Regions from separate parts of the Homo sapiens genome. Here regions 2 and 3 are each linked to region 1. The links are contacts of gene promoters, found by promoter capture Hi-C in blood cells and fetal thymus (Javierre and others, 2016). All regions are on one chromosome and are shown on one strand. Each heading gives the region's core, a stretch centred on a gene start or on the middle of the fragment in contact. The rest is flanking DNA. Distances are from core to core; before and after follow the strand shown. Region 1 holds the start of CIDEB (cell death inducing DFFA like effector b). Region 2 overlaps NYNRIN (NYN domain and retroviral integrase containing). Region 3 holds the start of TINF2 (TERF1 interacting nuclear factor 2).

Region 1 (3,538 bases), core at 573-3,072:
GTCTCCTGGTCCGGCTGAGCCCCTGGCCTCCTACCTCCTCCCACCTCTTGCCTCAGGCCCTGCCCCAGTCACTCCACCCTCAGGGCTCTCACCGGGCTGTCAATGACAGCTTTTCCATGTAAGGCATGGTGCTAGGTTCCAGGAGGAACAGGGGATGCATGGAGGCATAATGGTTAGGGAGTCATGACACACAACCATGAAGAGGCCCCATTACCAGGCTGCACCAGGATACAAGACAAGAAAGGAAAGGATGAGTAGGGACATACTAAGAAGCAGCCCTCTCCTCTTGGAAAAGTCAAGCAAAACTTGGAAATGAAGAGATTTGAGGGGGGCCTGGCAGATGGATAGAGCTGGGGGAAGGGAAAAGAAAGGCCTCTGCTCAAGTAACAGCCAGAACTTGAGGTTGCTTGGGGAGGGCACCAGGAGCACTGTCTTAGTTTGGGTTCTTCCAAAGCAGAGCTTGAGCTAAGGGCTTGGGTACAGGTGATCCTGTATTCTTGAGCTAAGGGCTTGGGTACAGGTGATCCTGTATTTGGGAGGTTAACTCAGGAAGTGAGGGCATAAGGTAAAACAAGAGAGAGGAAAGCCATTAAGAGTATGTTAAGTCCCTTCAGTAGGCCTTGGGAACCTCTGAGAAAAGTATAGATTGCCCAAGACAAAAGACTGGCAGGGTGATCAGTCCAAAGCATTTATTAGGAGAATGTACTTAATGAGTGGGCTACAGCGTATCCTCACAACAGACAGTGAGAGAGAGTTGTTCTACCTGGGTATATCCAAAACAAGGGGGTCAGGGTATGGAGTTTACGAGGGTTCAAGGTATTTGGTTCAGGGCCAGGGCCAGTTTTTTTCAGTGTTTTGGGCAACAACCTGAATACCTTTTCAAGGCTCTGGCTTGGGCTCAAGCCTGCAGGGGAAATGCAACTGGCCAGGTCACAGGGCAATCAAGTTACTCTGTGTTTCTTTGTCAGGACACAGAAAAAAAGTGGGGAAGCTGGGGGACCCTACAAGGATCCTTGGCAGGAAAGCAGGGATTGTGTTCATTTGAGGGTTTCACTGTCAGTGAGAGTCTCAGCTTCCATGCAACTGTCCATCACGGCTGCAACTGAAATCAGAGCTGGGACACAGCGCACCAGAAGCTAAAGTCTTGATGCCATCAAAGGACATCCCTGCCCCATTCACATCTCTGTCACGTCCACTAATCGGCAAAAGGAGAAAAGTGAGAGAAGATGACCTAAGTGTGACTGCAGCAGGCAGCTCTGGAAAATGAAGCCAGAGCAGTGAGCCAGCCCCTCCTCCGACCAAGGAGGAAGGAAAGAGCAGGTAAGCAGGAAGGCCAGTGTCCCAGACAGGACCCTAATGATCCTGAATCCATGTATCAGGATCCATCCTCTCCTTACACCCTTCCTGGACACAGTCTCACCTCTCATTTTCCAAAGCCCTGCCATGCTGCCATCCCACTTCCCCACACTCTGCCCCGGGTTCCCTTTTCCTAAAGCTGCAGCTTATGGCTTCTCCAGTAGGTGGCAGCACACACAGAGCCACTCATAAACTGCAGCTTCTCAGAGCCTGAGAGCCAGAAACCGTCCCCAGAAATTCCCTCCATAGAAATAAAAAAACACCAGAAGTCACATTTCATCCTTTTACATGGTTCCCATCTACCCTCACAACACATGTCATCACCAAAGACACACATACAAGCTCCAATGGCTTTTGCCAGGCAATTCTTCCTCCAGGACCCCATCTGGCCCCTCCCTCATCCCTCCCCTTGGACTTTGCCCTTCTTACTGGCCAGGCAGGGGGGCCAGAGTCCAGGCTTGACTCATTCCCACCTTGTCCTGGGCTGAGATCCCAGGTTTGTAACAGAAAACACCACTAAAGCCCCAGCACAGGAGAGAACCACCCAGCCCAGAAGTTCCAGGGAAGGAACTCTCCGGTCCACCATGGAGTACCTCTCAGCTCTGAACCCCAGTGACTTACTCAGGTGACTGCTAACCCTCCGCTCTACCCTCCACCTTTAGGGGATATAGGCAGGGCAACAATACTCCACTCAGCCCCTAGGAGACTAACCAGTACCCCTTCCTCTCCTGCTCCCCACTCCACAGTGGGCTTGTCAAGCTCCTGAGCCACCCGCCCCCACCTGCACTCCATGGTCTCTCCCTCATCCCTAATCGATAAACCTAGATCTCTCCCTCCCTAGCCCTCTAGCCACTCTACCCTCATCATGCCCTTTACACTCACCAAGCCCCTCCTCGCCCCTTCTTGACTTTTCTTCTCAACTACCAGGTCAGTATCTAATATAAGCTCGGAGTTTGGACGGAGGGTCTGGACCTCAGCTCCACCACCCCAGCGACCTTTCCGTGTCTGTGATCACAAGCGGACCATCCGGAAAGGCCTGACAGCTGCCACCCGCCAGGAGCTGCTAGCCAAAGTAAGTAGGCCAAGTTCCTCGGTTCCTATAGCAGGGGTAGCCAAGGGGCTCCACAACAGTGGCAACTTGTGATGATGGAGCAGAGGGCTGAAGTCACACAGCTGCCCCTCCCTCTGAGGGCTAAAAGCAGCGGAGTGGGCCTAATGAGCTCTGGTCAATTTGTTCATTTTCCACCGAGTGAGCTTTTCTATGGGAGCAGGGGTTAGCAGGAGATAGGGAGAGTTCGAGGGACAGAATTCAGAAGCTAGTATGGAAAGGTGATTTGTGTGACAAATCAAGTTCAAATTCTGATTCTGCCACTTCCTGCCTGTCAAACCTTGGGAAGTTGTTCAACCTACCAAAACCTCAGTTTCTTCAACTATAAAAAGGCAATAATAATACATCACCTCCTAGGGTTGTTGAAAGGAGTAAGAGGATAATGTAGGTAAAGTCCTCATACCTGGCACAGAGTAAGGACTCAAAAAGGTTAAACACTATTACTGAAAACACTTCTGGAGAACTCTTGAGGGTGTGGGAAGTGAGGTGCAGCATTGTAGATAAGACAGAAGGGTGGACTTCGTGAGAACCTGGCTTGCTTTCCAATTCCAAACCAGAAGTGACTTGGAGGGGAGCAAGGGGAGATGCCAATGACATGGTAGGAGCAAAGAGGAAAAAGGTCAGCCTCTAGCTAGGATCCCCCAAAAACTGAAGAACACGGAGAGCTGCAACCTTTAGGAGGTATCAAAGTGCCGGAAAGTCAAAGTGGGACATCGACCAATGTCTAGAGCCAACTGATGGATGTTGGGCAGCTAAAGAGGGAAGGGGCATGGGATAAGACCTGCCCTTCTTGCTTCTTGCCATTGGGCAGGCATTGGAGACCCTACTGCTGAATGGAGTGCTAACCCTGGTGCTAGAGGAGGATGGAACTGCAGTGGACAGTGAGGACTTCTTCCAGCTGCTGGAGGATGACACGTGCCTGATGGTGTTGCAGTCTGGTCAGAGCTGGAGCCCTACAAGGGTAAGAGGCCTATACTGGGGCTGCTTCCAATGCCTGTCCTTTAGAGCTTTCCCGGGCTTCCTCTCTAGCTTAACCCTGATCCTGGGGACCAGGTGCAGGAGGAGTTGTGGAAT
Region 2 (3,538 bases), core at 393-2,892, 94 kb before region 1:
ACTGCAGAACATTGGGGAAAACTGACAACTTCCAGAGAAAAAAACATCTCACACAAATGACCAGGGACCAGAACAGCTTCAGGCTCCTCCAAATGGAGCACAACCCTCACATTTCTGAAGGAAAATAATTTTCCTTTTATAATTCAATATCAGCCAAGCTCTCAATCAAATATCCTTTGGCTATGCAACGTGGACATGCAACCTCAGCATTTTTCCTCCTGTAAAACTTTTCCCGGGAAGCCACTGGAGAGCAGTTTTCCAGCAAACCAAGTAAGAAAGAAGCAAAGACCATCTCCAGGATGACGGTGAAGAGAAATCTCAGAATTTATTCATCCATTCGACAAATAATTCTTGACTACATGCCAGGCACTGTTTTAGGGTGACAATGGTCATTACACAGGACAGCTAGTTCAGATTGGAGGGTATGACTCAAGAGACAGGCATGTTGAAAGCAGGCATCTGCATACACTTTGCTGCTGCACCATCTTTTTAACTTGAGGCTACAGAGGGATGTGTTCCATCAACCCAAGAAAGAAAAAGTTTCAAGGTCCAGGACATGAGTATCTAGCAAAGAAAAAAGGCAAAGGATGCCAAGAACGACAGCTGTGTCAGCCTGGAAAGCAACTGACCAGACAGGAGAGACGGCGCCAAGAAAAAATTTAGAACCAAAAGAACACCTTGAACTGATAGACTGACCTTGTAGAAAACTGTACTGAGAGGCTACTGGAAGTGGTAAGAATTAACAATAGGTACAAAGAAAGGCAAATTGAAAAACAAGGAGTGCTTAACCTCAATGACCTCAGTAAAACCCAAAAAGTAAGAAAGAAAACAAAATCATAGTACACTTCAGTGCTTCGATGTGAACGCTATGTGCAAGGCATAATGAGGCAATGCTAAACGTAGATTTAGCAGGTAATTGAAACAGAACTATCTTGAGAAGAGGGGCTGGCCGTGAAAGGGAGCTCAATCCTCACATACGATAATGGGACCAAAAAAAGATAGCAGCAAACGTCAATTAATTAAAAGACAATAGTGTCTACATATTCTTTTAGAAATGTGGAGATGCGTAAATGCCAGAGCAAATACTGTCAGTGGGGATGGTTACTGAAGGAGGAATTGGGAGGGCCGGGGCAGGGAACCTCTGTGTGCTCTTCTAAGCCTTTTGGTAAAATTGGACTTTTCAAATGTGTATTACTTTGATAAAAGAAAATTTAAGTTTAAAGAAAAAGAAGTATTCAGTGCCCACAACACAAGCAGGTGTCCTGGTAAATGTTTAACAATCAGCTGGGGGTGGGGGGTAACCTTGATTTGTCGCATTTGCCAATTTCTGTGGCATAAATACTCCCACCATGGCTGTAAATACTCCTCCACTCACTTGCACAATTCCCGAAATTTTAACAGTGGGTCCATAGGAGCCAACTCCAGGCACTGACCGCAACCAACTCTCAGGGTACTGCTCACAGTTAGTGTGCAGCAAAGATAGTTCAACTTCCATCTGACAGCCAAGCCAGATGTCAGCAGGCCACACCCTGTCCCAGAGCTCCAGAACCCAGTCTCCAGAAGGTACTCTTGCCCACCACCACTGCCTTTAGGCTCCCCATCACCTCCCGCAGTGGTCACCTCTCTTCTCTGCCGCCCACCCCATCCTCACCTCACTGCCAAAGGGGAGAAGGGTGGAGCAGGGCTTGTCCCGGGCCTCTTCTGATCATTACTAAAACCCGCCTCTCCACTCACTGATTTCACCTCAGAGAGGCCTCCCCAGTGTTTGTTTTGCTGCCTGGGTATGTGTTTCACAGTAATGTCTTCAGTGTTCTTTAATCCCACCACAACAAAACAATTTTAAAGCACTCAAGATTTACAGAGATTTTCCTGAGAAACCAACCACATAGAAACACACTCAGGCCCTTCTCTAGATGAGCCTGTATCCTTCTCGACCCCTCCTCCCCTCAGACCCCAACAAGCCACCCTCACCATCAGCCCTCCCCCAGTCCTGCAACCTGTAGTCTCCCAGAGTCCTCTCTGCCTGTTGGCCTATGTTCAGTATGCCACTAACAAAGTGCATGATTCTGTGTCCCTACAGCTGAGATTGGGGCCAGCCACGCTGCCTCCCTATGAGAACCACAAGACATCCTTACACTTGGGAAATGTTCATGTGTCAGATCGCTGGACCTCAGACAGCATTTAATCCAAGACTTCCACTTTACAAACAGGGAGATCGAGACTCAGAGAGGGAAAAGGACTTGCTCAAAGTTACGCAGCTAGTCAAAAACAATAGTAGCTAACATCTATACTCTATAGCTCTCCACATTTTATAACAGTATTGTAACATGCATGATTTCAGCAGACTCTCACAAACTCTTCATGAACCAGGTATTATTATAGTCTGTTCCATAGATGAGGGAAATGGCTCAAGAGAGGATAAATTATTTGATCTGATCACCCAGTTCAGATAGTTAACAGGTAGCAAACCCCAGTCTCAAACTCTCCTCACCATACCCCTCCTATCTTGGTTGTAACTTGGTGACAGCATATCAAACCCAGATCCCCTAACCCCTGAGACAAAACTTTAACCCCCCCCGCCCCTCACCTTCCCTGTCCTCCTTCTCCAAATTGCCAACAAAGTCTCCTTTATGGTCATTGTGTAAAATAAGGCAGGGAGCTACCCAGAATCCCCTCACGCTGGGTTCCCACTTTTCAACAATGCCTTTCCCAAAGGGAAGACAAAGGGGGAGTGGAGGAACAGGGCTAGGAATCAAGGGAGCCACTGATTCCATTAGCTGGGCCTACAGTGGGAGCCTGAGGTGTGAGATCTGCGGTCCGAAGAACCCTGAAGCAGCAGAGGGAGACGGAGCAGGTAGGCCTGGAGAAGCCAATCCAGGATTTGAGCAAGGAGGGGGTGGCGGGGGTACCTCCGAAAGTGTGAGTCCTGGCCCGGCACAGTGGTTCATGCCTGTAATCCCAGCACTTTGGGAGGCCAAGGCGGGTGGATCACCTGAGGCCAGGAGTTCAAGACCAACCTGGCCAACATGGTGAAACCTCATCTCTACTAAAATACAAAAATTAGCTGGGCATGGTGGCACGTGCCTGTAATCCCAGCTACTCAGAAGGCTGAGGCAGGAGAATCACTTGAACACAAGAGGCAGAGGTGGAGGCTGCAGTGAGCCAAGACCACGCCATTGCACTCCAGCCTGGGCAACAGAGTGAAACTTCATCTCAAAAAAAAAAAAAAAAGAAAAAGAAAGTGTGAGTCCCCTAAGAGGGTGAGCTGCTGCCTTTCAAAGTAACAAAAAGATTAAGAACCCAAAGAACCCAAAACACTCCTCTTGTTAGCCTACCCTACCCCGGCTTCTAAATGTCTTCCTCTCAAGGCCTCCAGTACATATGTTCTTTGGGAAGACACCCCTTCCCCCTCCTAGCACCTCTGTCAAAATTGGAAAAACTGCTGACCTAGCAGCTCCACAGAGGGGTTGAGGGAGGAACTTCCCAGCCTGCCTGCCTACCAGGCTGGCTGGCCGAGTTCTGGGCCTCCCCACCCATG
Region 3 (3,538 bases), core at 1,039-3,538, 65 kb after region 1:
CTACAAAACATATTTTTCTTTTTTTTTTTTTTTGTAGAGTCAGGGTCTCACTGTATTGCCCAGGCTGGTCTCAAACTCCTGGCCTCAAGTGATCCTCCCACTTCAGCCTCCCAAAGTTCTGGGATTACAGGCATGAGCCACCACACCCACCAAAAAAGATTTTTTAAAAAATTAGCCAGGGACTGCGTGCAGTGGCTCACGCCTGCGATCCCAACACTTTCGGAAGCCGAGGTGGGAAGATCGCTTGAGTCCAGGAATTCGAGACCAGCCTGGGCAACAAAGACTTGTCTCTACAAAAAATAGAAAAAAATGAGCCAGGCATGGTGGTGCATGCCTGTAGCCCCAGTTACTTTGGAGGCTGAGGCAGGAGGATCACTTAAGCCCAGGAGGCAGAGGTTGCAGTGAGCCAAGATCACTGCACTCCACCCTGAGCAACAGAGCGAGACTGTCTCCCCACCTCAAAAAAAAAAAAAGAGCCGAGCGCGGTGGCTCACGCCTTGTAATCCCAGCACTTTGGGAGGCCGAGGCGAGCGGATCACGAGGTCAGGAGATCCAGACCACGGTGAAACCCCGTCTCTACTAAAAATACAAAAAAGCCGGGCGCGGTGGTGGGCGCCTGTAGTCCCAGCTACTCGGGAGGCTGAGGCAGGAGAATGGCGTGAACCCAGGAGGCGGAGCTTGCAGTGAGCTGAGATCGCGCCACTGCACTTCAGCCTGGGCGACAGAGCGAGACTCCGTCTCAAAAAAAAAAAAAAGTAAAACAACAGAAGTTCATATCTACATAAGAAAGAAAGAACATTAGAGAAGGAATAAATAAAGGGAAAAAGGAAGATAACTAGAATTTCACACATATCCAATTTGGGGTACTTTGGGACTGGGTGTTTCTTGGGCAGTCGAATGTGCGGATCAGCTGAGACTGATCCGGGGCGGAGACAAGGATGTGTGAACCATTATCTCTGGGAATGGAAGACATGGGCTAAAGACGGAGCAGTTTCACTAAATCCTTGTAAGGTGGTCAAGGCAGGCAACTAATCCAGCCAACAATTAAGGAGTGTAAGCTGTGTGTTAGGTTCTGTGCTTGCTGATGGAAATGAGAGGCACCAGGAAGCCTGTGGAAGAGACAGTCAAGGAGAGCAGTCAATTACATTAGGGGGCTGACAAGTTCAGTGCACAACAGAATCCTAAAACAAGAAACTAATTTGTGTGTGTGTGTGAGACCCCGTCTCACTCTATCACTCAGGCTGGAGTGCAGTCACTGAAGCCTCAACCTCCCTGGCTCAAACAATCCTCCCAACTCAGCCTCCTGAGTAGCTGGGACTACAGGCGTGCCACTACGCCCGGCTAGTTTTTTTGATTTTCAGTAGAGACAGGTTATCGCCATGTGATCCAGTCTGGTCTGGAACTCCTGGGCTCAAGCGGATCGATCCTCCCCTCTCGGCCTCTCAGAGTGCTGGGATTACAGGTGTGAGTCACCGTGCCCCCAGCCTGTATTCTATTTCTTCTTCTTCCTCTTTTTTTTTTTTTTTTTTTCTTTGAGAGAGATTCTCCCTCTGTCGCCCAGGCTGGAATGCAGAGGCAAGATCGCGGCTCACTGCCACCTCCCGTCTACTGGGTTCAAGCGATTCTCCTGCCTCGGCCTCCCGAGTAGCTGGGATTACAGGCGCCTGCCACCACGCCCAGCTAATTTTTGTACTTTTAGCAGAGAAGGGGTTTCACCATGTCGCCCAGGCTTGTCTGGAGCTCCTGGGCTCAAGTGACCCTCCTGCCTCGGCCTCTCAAAGCGCTGGGATTAGACACAAGCCACCACGCCCAGCCTGTATTTTATTTTTTAAGGGCGGGCGCCCTCTTCTGTTTTATAAAAGGAACAGTCGAATTCCTACTGGAAGCGACGCGCGCAGAGGGGAAGGCTTTGTAGACGCCGGCTCGGGTCTGGAATTTAAAGAACTAAATTTCGATGGGTGAAGACAGTGGGAAAGGGCGGTGGCATGATCCTCGTTTTACAGACTAGGAAGTCGAGCCTCACGGGAGTGACGGGGCTTCTCCGCAGGCTCCGCGAAGAAAGCAAGGCTGGGAGGACCCAGACGAACGGCCACAACAGCCTCAGCGGCCACGACAGCCTCAGCCGCCAACTCATGTCAGCCGGCAGAGAGTGCAGGAAGCGGGCAGCTACAGCTCCGCTGGGGCGTGGCCTTCTGACGCACCGTCACGGTTCCCTCTGTGGCCGCCCATTGGCTCCCTCTTACCGCCCTTTTCCGGGGCAAGGGAAGCTAGTAGCGGAGCCGGAAGTGAGGCACCCTCGGGCTCGAGACAGCGGCGACGTTTAAAGCTGAGCGACCCAGTGCCACTGGAGACGGTCAGCTTCTCCACTCAGGCTCCTCCAGCCCGAGCCAGAAGACCCCCTCCCCCAGAATTCTGGGGGCCGATGGAAGGGAGCCGAGTCAGATCGCGAGGTACCCAGAGCCGACAGACCGGAGCGACAGGGAGTTGCCAGAAGCCCCGCCCCTAGGAGTGATCGGAAAGCCTCACCCATCCGGGTGAGGAACCCGGAGGGACCGCCTCCGGGCGGAGCCCGCCGACCATGGCTACGCCCCTGGTGGCGGGTCCCGCAGCTCTACGCTTCGCCGCCGCGGCTAGCTGGCAGGTTGTGCGCGGACGCTGCGTGGAACATTTTCCGCGAGTACTGGAGTTTCTGCGATCTCTGCGCGCTGTTGCCCCTGGCTTGGTTCGCTACCGGCACCACGAACGCCTTTGTATGGGCCTAAAGGCCAAGGTATTGGAGCAAGTAGGACCTGGAAGGGGAAAGAAAGAAAGGGGCGGGATGCGAGCACCTGACAAGGGCCCACAGCTTGGGGATGAGACTAGTTGGAAAAGGTCAGCTTGCCCCGAAGTGGGGATTCTGAATTCAGTACCGTACAGGTGGTGGTGGAGCTGATCCTGCAGGGCCGGCCTTGGGCCCAAGTCCTGAAAGCCCTGAATCACCACTTTCCAGAATCTGGACCTATAGTGCGGGATCCCAAGGCTGTGAGTAATCCCCGGAACAAGCCCTGACCCCAGTTACACTTGGTGCAGCAAAGTTGCTCCTCCTGTCTACTGGATGTTGGTGCTAACTTCTCTGTCTTCTGTATCCTCAACAGACAAAGCAGGATCTGAGGAAGATTTTGGAGGCACAGGAAACTTTTTACCAGCAGGTGAAGCAGCTGTCAGAGGCTCCTGTGGATTTGGCCTCGAAGCTGCAGGTGAGACTGGTTTGAAGGCTATTATGTGGCTATTTTCTCTAACCCATTTTTTTTTTTTTTTGAGGAATCTTGCTCTGTCGCCCAGGCTGGAGTGCAGTGGCACAATCTCGGCTCACTGCAACCTCTGCCTCCCGGGTTCAAGCGATTCTCCTGCCTCAGCCTCCCGAGTAGCTGGGATTACAAATGCCCAGCTAATTTTTGTATTTTAGTAGAGATGGGGTTTCACCATGTTGGCCAGGCTGGTCTCGAACTCCTGACCTCAAGTGATCCGCCCACCTCGGCCTCCCAAATGGCCAGGATTA

Evidence for each region. The method cuts DNA at HindIII sites, captures the fragments that hold promoters and counts their contacts. A CHiCAGO score of 5 or more calls a contact.
Region 2: a contact is called between a fragment that was not itself captured here and the fragment with the promoter of CIDEB in region 1, in 5 of 17 cell types (naive CD8 T cells, erythroblasts, total CD4 T cells and 2 more). The highest score is 7.0, in naive CD8 T cells.
Region 3: a contact is called between the fragment with the promoter of TINF2 here and the fragment with the promoter of CIDEB in region 1, in 7 of 17 cell types (total CD8 T cells, neutrophils, naive CD4 T cells and 4 more). The highest score is 7.3, in total CD8 T cells.

The regions. Positions count from the first base shown.
Region 1 is chr14:24,306,261-24,309,798 of GRCh38, reverse strand. CIDEB (cell death inducing DFFA like effector b) reads left to right here and starts at 1,822. Exons shown (of 5, transcript NM_001393339.1): 1 at 1,822-1,981; 2 at 2,284-2,428; 3 at 3,276-3,425. The coding sequence starts at 1,941. NOP9 (NOP9 nucleolar protein) reads right to left here. Exons shown (of 10, transcript NM_174913.3): 10 at 675-3,538. The HindIII fragment of the contact is 15,090 bases long and covers 1-3,538 here.
Region 2 is chr14:24,400,479-24,404,016 of GRCh38, reverse strand. All of the region lies in intron 2 of NYNRIN (NYN domain and retroviral integrase containing), which reads right to left. Among named protein-coding and RNA genes, the nearest start is that of NYNRIN, 3.2 kb to the right of the region's middle. The HindIII fragment of the contact is 4,166 bases long and covers 1-3,538 here.
Region 3 is chr14:24,241,373-24,244,910 of GRCh38, reverse strand. TINF2 (TERF1 interacting nuclear factor 2) reads left to right here and starts at 2,288. Exons shown (of 9, transcript NM_001099274.3): 1 at 2,288-2,770; 2 at 2,917-3,021; 3 at 3,135-3,236. The coding sequence starts at 2,579. RefSeq lists a silencer at 1,354-1,648 and enhancers at 1,840-2,139, 2,310-2,569, 2,640-2,859, 3,520-3,538. The HindIII fragment of the contact is 13,864 bases long and covers 1-3,538 here.